Linked DNA regions of Homo sapiens: region 2 is linked to region 1. The links are contacts of gene promoters, found by promoter capture Hi-C in blood cells and fetal thymus (Javierre and others, 2016). All regions are on one chromosome and are shown on one strand. The core of a region is centred on a gene start or on the middle of the fragment in contact, and the rest is flanking DNA. Distances in the headings are between cores, read along the strand shown. Region 1 holds the start of PYDC2 (pyrin domain containing 2). Region 2 holds the start of FGF12-AS1 (FGF12 antisense RNA 1).

Region 1 (3,290 bases), core at 612-3,111:
AGAGAAAGAGAGAAAGAAAGAAAAAGAAAAAAGAGGGAGGGAGGGAGGGGAGAAAGCCAGATATATTAGGAAGTTTACTTTGTACATTTCAAATCTGTAGGGAAAAGATGAGATTGCAATAAAGGTTCTGGTATCCTTGGCTGGCTGCCTGAAAAGAAGAATGCTGGATACATACTTCATACCTTTGTTGGGAAAAAGTGGCTAAATAGATTACAGATTTAAAGGCAAATATTAAAATGTAACCATGAATGAATCAGGAGTAAAGATAGGAGAATTATTTTATTCCCTTGGACTAGGAAAGATCTTTCTATGAGTCTCATCTGGAAGCCATAAAAGTAGTGATAGATTAATGCATATACATAAAATTGTAGTCTTCTGCTGTGGGGAAAATCATAAGCAAAGTCAAAAAGAAAAGAAATTGCAACTCATATCCAGATAGTACTAATCTCTCAGACATAAAAGGAGTTCCTGGAATCAATGAGAAAAAGACAAAACAAAACAAAAATGGAATAAAAAAGGAAAATTGTCAAGAGTATGAATAAATAGTTCATTGAATGGAAATATTAACGGTCTTTAAACATATGAAAAGATGGTAAACATTCATTGTCTCATTTTTTGCATTTTTAACATTTATTGAGATATAATTCACATATCACACAACTCATTTAAAGAATACAATTAAATGTTTTTAGCTTATTCACAGATATGTACCATCATCACCATAGTTGATTTCAGAATATTCTCATCACCTCGAAAAGCAATCTTAAATGTTTTAGCTATTACTCCCTATTCCCCTCTACTCACCAACTCTCCTTCCCAGTCCTAAGCAACCTGTTATCTACTTCTGACTCTATAAATTTGGCCATTCTGAACTTTCCTATGAATGGAATCATATCATATGTGATGTGACCATATAATATTTTGTCTTTTATGACAGGCTTCTTTCATTTAGCATAGTGTTTTCAATGTTCATTCATGTTTAAGCATGTGATCAATACTTCATTTTTGTCGAATAATATTTCATTAGCTGCATATGCCACAATTTGTTTATTCATTTGTCCATTCACAGACATTAGGTTGTTTCCACCTTTTGGCTATTGTATACAATGACACTATAAACATTTGTGTTTATGTTTTTATTTCTCTTGATCATGTACTTATAAATATAATATTAGATCATATGAGAACTCTGTTTATCATTTGAGAAATTGCCATCCTGTTTTCCAAAGTGGCTGCACAATTTCACATTTCCATAAGCAGTATATGAGGATTCTAGTTTCTCCACATCTGTGCCAATACTTGTTATTATCTTTCTATTCTAGCCAGCCTAGTGGATATGAAGTGGTATCTCATCATAGTTTTGATTTGCATTTCCCTGAATACTAAAGTTGTCAGGCATCTTTTCTTTTAATGTTTGTGAATTATTTCACCTTTATTTATCTCAAAATACTGGTGATATAGATATTTCATATATAACAAGGTTAAGCAACATGTGCATGTAAAATGGAGGCAGAACCAAGGCTAAAGCAACATCTAGCTCAGCCATCAACTCACTATCCCTGAGGGGTTAAGGTGGGGGCATCACACAGTGTTCATCAGCTCTCCCAGACAGATGCGTTTGATTCATCTTTTCAAAGACCTGGATGGCTGCCATCCCTGCCCAGTAGCTGCAGGAGTGGCTGGTGAAGATTTCTACCAGTTGCTTCCCATTAGCCTTGTCTACCTCTGTCTGGGGGACGGTCTGTAGCTCCTTTCCCAGGGAGATTGTTCTGATCAGAGACTTGAACTTGCTCAACTCATCCTGGCTGAGCTGCTCCAGAAGAGCCTGCAGGTTGAAGTCCAGCTCTGCAGAAGATGCCATCTTGTCCTATGTGGGAGCTCTCCCAACGCCTGGCCCTATGCTCTGGTTCTCACATTTTTTCATATACTAATAAGTATATATTTTTATATCTTTTTAGAAGAAATATCAGTTCAGATTTTTGCTCATTATAAAATTGCGTTATTGTCTTTTTATTGCTGAGTTGTAAGAGTTCTTTATATAGTCTAGGGACAGGTCCTTCATTAGATACGCGATACGCAAATTTTTGCTCCCATTCTGTGAGTTGTCTTATCAGTTTAATGATGGTGTCCTTTAAGGTACAAATGTTTTTCATTTTGATGAAATCAAATTTATCTATTTTTTTCTTATTTTTTATGCTTTTGATGTCATGTCTAAGAATCTTTTGCCAAGTCTCAGGTCATAAAGATGTACCCCTATCATTTACTATAAGAATATTACAGCTTTAACTCTTACATTTGGGTATTTGATATATTTTGAGTTAATTTTTGTATGTGGCATGAAATAGAGGTCCAACTTTATTCTTCTGCATGTAGAAATCTACTTGCCTAAGCATCATTTGTTGAAAAGTCTATTCTTTCCCCATTGTACGGTCTTGAAACCCTTGTTGAAAGTCAGTTGACCACAGATGTACGGGCTTATTTTTGGACTCTCAGTTCTGTTTTATTGAGCAATGTGCCTATCCTTATGCCAGTACCACATTATCTTAATTACCATTAAGATGCTAAGTCATGAAATGAGGAAATACTAAATAAATTACTAAGTCATGAAATAAGGAAAGGTGAATTGTCTTTGTTTGCTCTTATTTTTCAATATCATCTTGGCTGTACTGGGTCTATGCGATACTACTTGAATTTTCTAACTAGTTTGCCCATTTCTACATAAAGTAAGCTGAGGTTCTGACAGGGATTGTATTGAATCTGTAGATCAGTTTGGGGAGTAGTGCCATCTTAACAATGTAAATTAAGCCTTCCAATCTATAAACACGAGATGCTTTCCACTTATTTAGCTCTTTAATTTCTCTCAATAATGTCTTGTAATTTTCAGAGCATAAGTTTTACTTCTTTGTTAAAATTTATTTCTAGGTATTTTATTCTTTTTGATATGATTCTAAAAGGAATTGTTTTAATTTCAGTTTTGGACTGTTCATTACAAGTGTGTAGAAGAAAAACTGATTTTTATGTATGATCTTGTATCCTGAAACCTGGATGAACTCATTTAATAGTTCTAACAGGTTTCGAGTGAATTTTTTAGGATTTCCTATATACAAGATTATGTTATCTGCTAATACAGACACTTTCACTTCCATTCCAATCCAGTTGCCTTTCTTATCTTGTCTAGTTGCTAGGGCTAGCACCACTAATGTAATGTTGTATGGTCATGCTAAGAGCAGATAGCATTGAGATGGTCCTGATTTTAGGACAAAAATCATTTTTCCATTAAATATAATTTT
Region 2 (3,181 bases), core at 473-2,972, 780 kb before region 1:
GGGAAATCAGATAAGTCATTGTATTATTATTATAACATTGATTTATCTTTTCTTGAATGGCAATTATTGTCACTGCTGGGCTGGAAAAATCCAGAAAGCTCTCCAGTATATGGTAATTAGATATGGGATCTATCAGTCATCGTGTGGTGTTGAATAACAAACATATGGAAAAATGAAGCATGAATGCATCTGTTTTGTACTATTTCCTCTGAGCCTTCAGCATACTAATGGATTACCATAAGGGTGGGGATTCAACATGCACAACATCTATGAAAAATGTATAAGACAACTTTCCTGGTTGAGTTTTTCTCTACCAAGAAGGTCATATCTTGGACTTTCATTCAAAGACTATTATTTCTGGGATCTTCCCCCCTGCACCCATAGTGTCTAATACAACTTTTTCTCACCTTTCATCTTACCCTGTTTCACTAAGACCTCAGATATTTACTGGGGCTTTCCAACCTTAAACTTAGTTGTGACTTGGGTTACCCCATTAGCAGGATTAGTAGTCTATCACAACAGTCCCCAACCTTCTTGGCACCAGAAACCAGTTTCTTGGAACGCAATTTTTCCACAGACTAGTTGGGGGTTGGAGATGGTTTCCAGATGAAACTGTTTCATCTCAGATTTACAGGCATTGGTTAGATTCTCACCAACAGCGCTCAGCCTAGATCCCTCATATGCACAGTTCACAATAGGGTTCATGCTCCTATGAGAATCTAATGCCACTGCTGATCTGACAGGAAGAGGCAGAGCTCAGGCAGTAGTGCTCACTCACCCGCTGCTCACCTCTTGCTGTGTGACCAGTTCCTAACAGGCCACAGACCAGTACCAGTCTGTGGCCCAGGAGTTGGGGGCCCCTGGTCCATCACACACTTGAAGAGCTATTGTTAGAATAAGCTTCACATAATTAACGGCTTTGTCCCAATTTGGTATTAAAAGAGCAATTTCCCATCTTACTCTGTTCACCACAATTCAGTGTAAGAGATCAGGGATTTGTTCCTACTTCTTTAATGGAAAAACAAATCTATCAAAATCAGTAGTTCTGGAAACATCAATGCAAACAAAATGGACAAGTTTCCATGGATTTTTCTATTGTTCATTTTGAATAACATTAAAGTGCATGGATGCTACCATTTGTATGCAAACCAAATAGAGAATAGAAAAGAGCTAGCTTTTTATGTATCCTGCAGATATTTTTTGGGCTCAATTTATATTTTGGGCCATGTACACTTCTACATGTTACACATAGACCTCATGTCTTTTCGTAAGTATGAAGACTAGGAAAAGTTATACACTAAGCAAGCCCATTCTGTGGGATTGGAATGTTAACCTGTATTACACTAAAATCTCTGCTTTTATTAGGATGCTGGTCTACTTTCCAAGATGAGTACTGTTTGTGGAAAATGCACTTCCCATCACATTTGGGAGAATTAGATTAGTATAGACTTGACTCAGCATGAGCTTCAGCCATCCCAGGTTCACCATTGATAGGCCTAGCACTGTCCAAAGATTGCCATTGATAATGTGCTCCAGGAGGATTACATGTGGAATGACCAAAGGAATTCACTGAGTTAGAGTAAACTTTGGACCTGTGAGGAACCTTTGAAGCAGCCATAAGATGATGGAAAGAGCAATATACATGTAACACAAAAGCCTGGGATTACCTGCTCTGCTCTTTTCCAGAGACAACTCACTGAATTCCTTGAGCTTCCATTTACAAGTCTGTCCAGTGGCACATCAAATAAAATAATTGAAGTCTTTCTGCTTAAGAAAACTTTAAAAATTACAGTTCAGTCATTTTATAGTACAGGTTAACAAAACTGAAACTTGGAGTAAGAAAACGACCTGGTGGACCCCTACCATTATGCATCCACCCATTGTCTCCCCCTGCTGGCACACTCCAACCATGACCTCCCCTGCCAGCACGTACCTGCTTGCATCCTCCCCCTGTCAGTGCATACCTGCCCATAGTCTTTCCCTGCCAGTGCACACCCACCCTCAGCCTCCCCCTACTGATGCGTACTCGCCTGCAGCCTCCTCCATTGGTGCACATGTGTGTGGAGACTCCCACTGCCCCACTGGAGCAATTTTGCCAGCAGCCCCTGCCAGAGTGTTGTTGCAAGTGAACTGGGAACACCTCAGCACCTCCAGCACAGCAGGTGCTTAATCTCAAGGGGCCAGAGAGCAAAGCCACAGGACTAATCCCCCATCCCCCAGGATTACAGCATGCAGCCCAAGAGTGCTGAGGTGAGCTTTGGCTCCAGAAAAGCATTCAGAATTGAAACCAATCCATGAAACCCAATTTATACCATAGTCAAAACCTCAAGAGCATCAAATAATAGAAAAGCAAAAAGCCCCATCCAAAAGACAGCAGCTTCAAATACCAAAGGAGCATCAGTCCACACAGATAAGAACTAGTGCAAGAACTCTAATGATTCTTAAAGCCAGAGTGTCTTCTTGAGTCTAAATGACTACAACTTGCTCCCCAGCAATGGTTCTTAACCAGAATGAAATTGCTGAAATTACAGATACAGAATTCAGGAGCTGAATGACAAGGAACCACATATAGTTACAGGAGAAGGTTGAAACCCAATCCCAAGAACACGGTGAAACAGTCCAAGAGTTGAAAGAGTACACATCCATTTTAAGAAAGAAACAAACTGAATGTCTGGAGATGAAAAATTGACTCCAGAAATTTTATAATGCAATTGGAGGCATTAATAACTGAATAGATCAAACTGAGGGAAAAAAGTCTCAGAACTCGAAGACTGTTTTTTGGAATCAATGCAGGCAGACAAAAATAAAAAAGAATTTGAAAAATGAACAAAAGCTCTGAGAAATATGAGATTATGTAAGGAGACCAAACCTGTAACTCGTTGTCATTCCTGAAAGAGATGGAAAGAGAACAAGCAACTTGGAAAACATATTTGAGAATATTGGTCATGAAAATTTCCCCAACCTTGCTGGAGTGATCAACATGCAAATTCAGGAAATTCAGAGAACCCCTGCAAAATACTATACAAGATGACCATCCCCAAGACACGTAGTCATCAGATTCTTCGAAACCAATGTGGAAGAAAAAAATCTTAAAGACAGCTAGAAATAAGGGGCAGGTTATGTACAAAGGGAACTCCGCCAGGCTATAGTGCACTTTTCAGCAGAACCCTTATGAGCCAGA

Evidence for each region. Contacts are between HindIII fragments. The CHiCAGO score rates a contact against its expected background, and 5 or more counts as called.
Region 2: a contact is called between the fragment with the promoter of FGF12-AS1 here and the fragment with the promoter of PYDC2 in region 1, in 2 of 17 cell types (endothelial precursors and neutrophils). The highest score is 8.7, in endothelial precursors.

The regions. Positions count from the first base shown.
Region 1 is chr3:191,459,734-191,463,023 of GRCh38, reverse strand. It overlaps PYDC2 (pyrin domain containing 2), which reads right to left and starts at 1,861. Exons shown (of 1, transcript NM_001083308.1): 1 at 1,568-1,861. The coding sequence starts at 1,861. The coding sequence ends at 1,568. All of the region lies in intron 1 of PYDC2-AS1 (PYDC2 antisense RNA 1), which reads right to left. The HindIII fragment of the contact is 8,936 bases long and covers 1-3,290 here.
Region 2 is chr3:192,237,171-192,240,351 of GRCh38, reverse strand. FGF12-AS1 (FGF12 antisense RNA 1) reads right to left here and starts at 1,722. Exons shown (of 5, transcript NR_046596.1): 1 at 1,668-1,722. All of the region lies in intron 4 of FGF12 (fibroblast growth factor 12), which reads left to right. The HindIII fragment of the contact is 8,524 bases long and covers 903-3,181 here.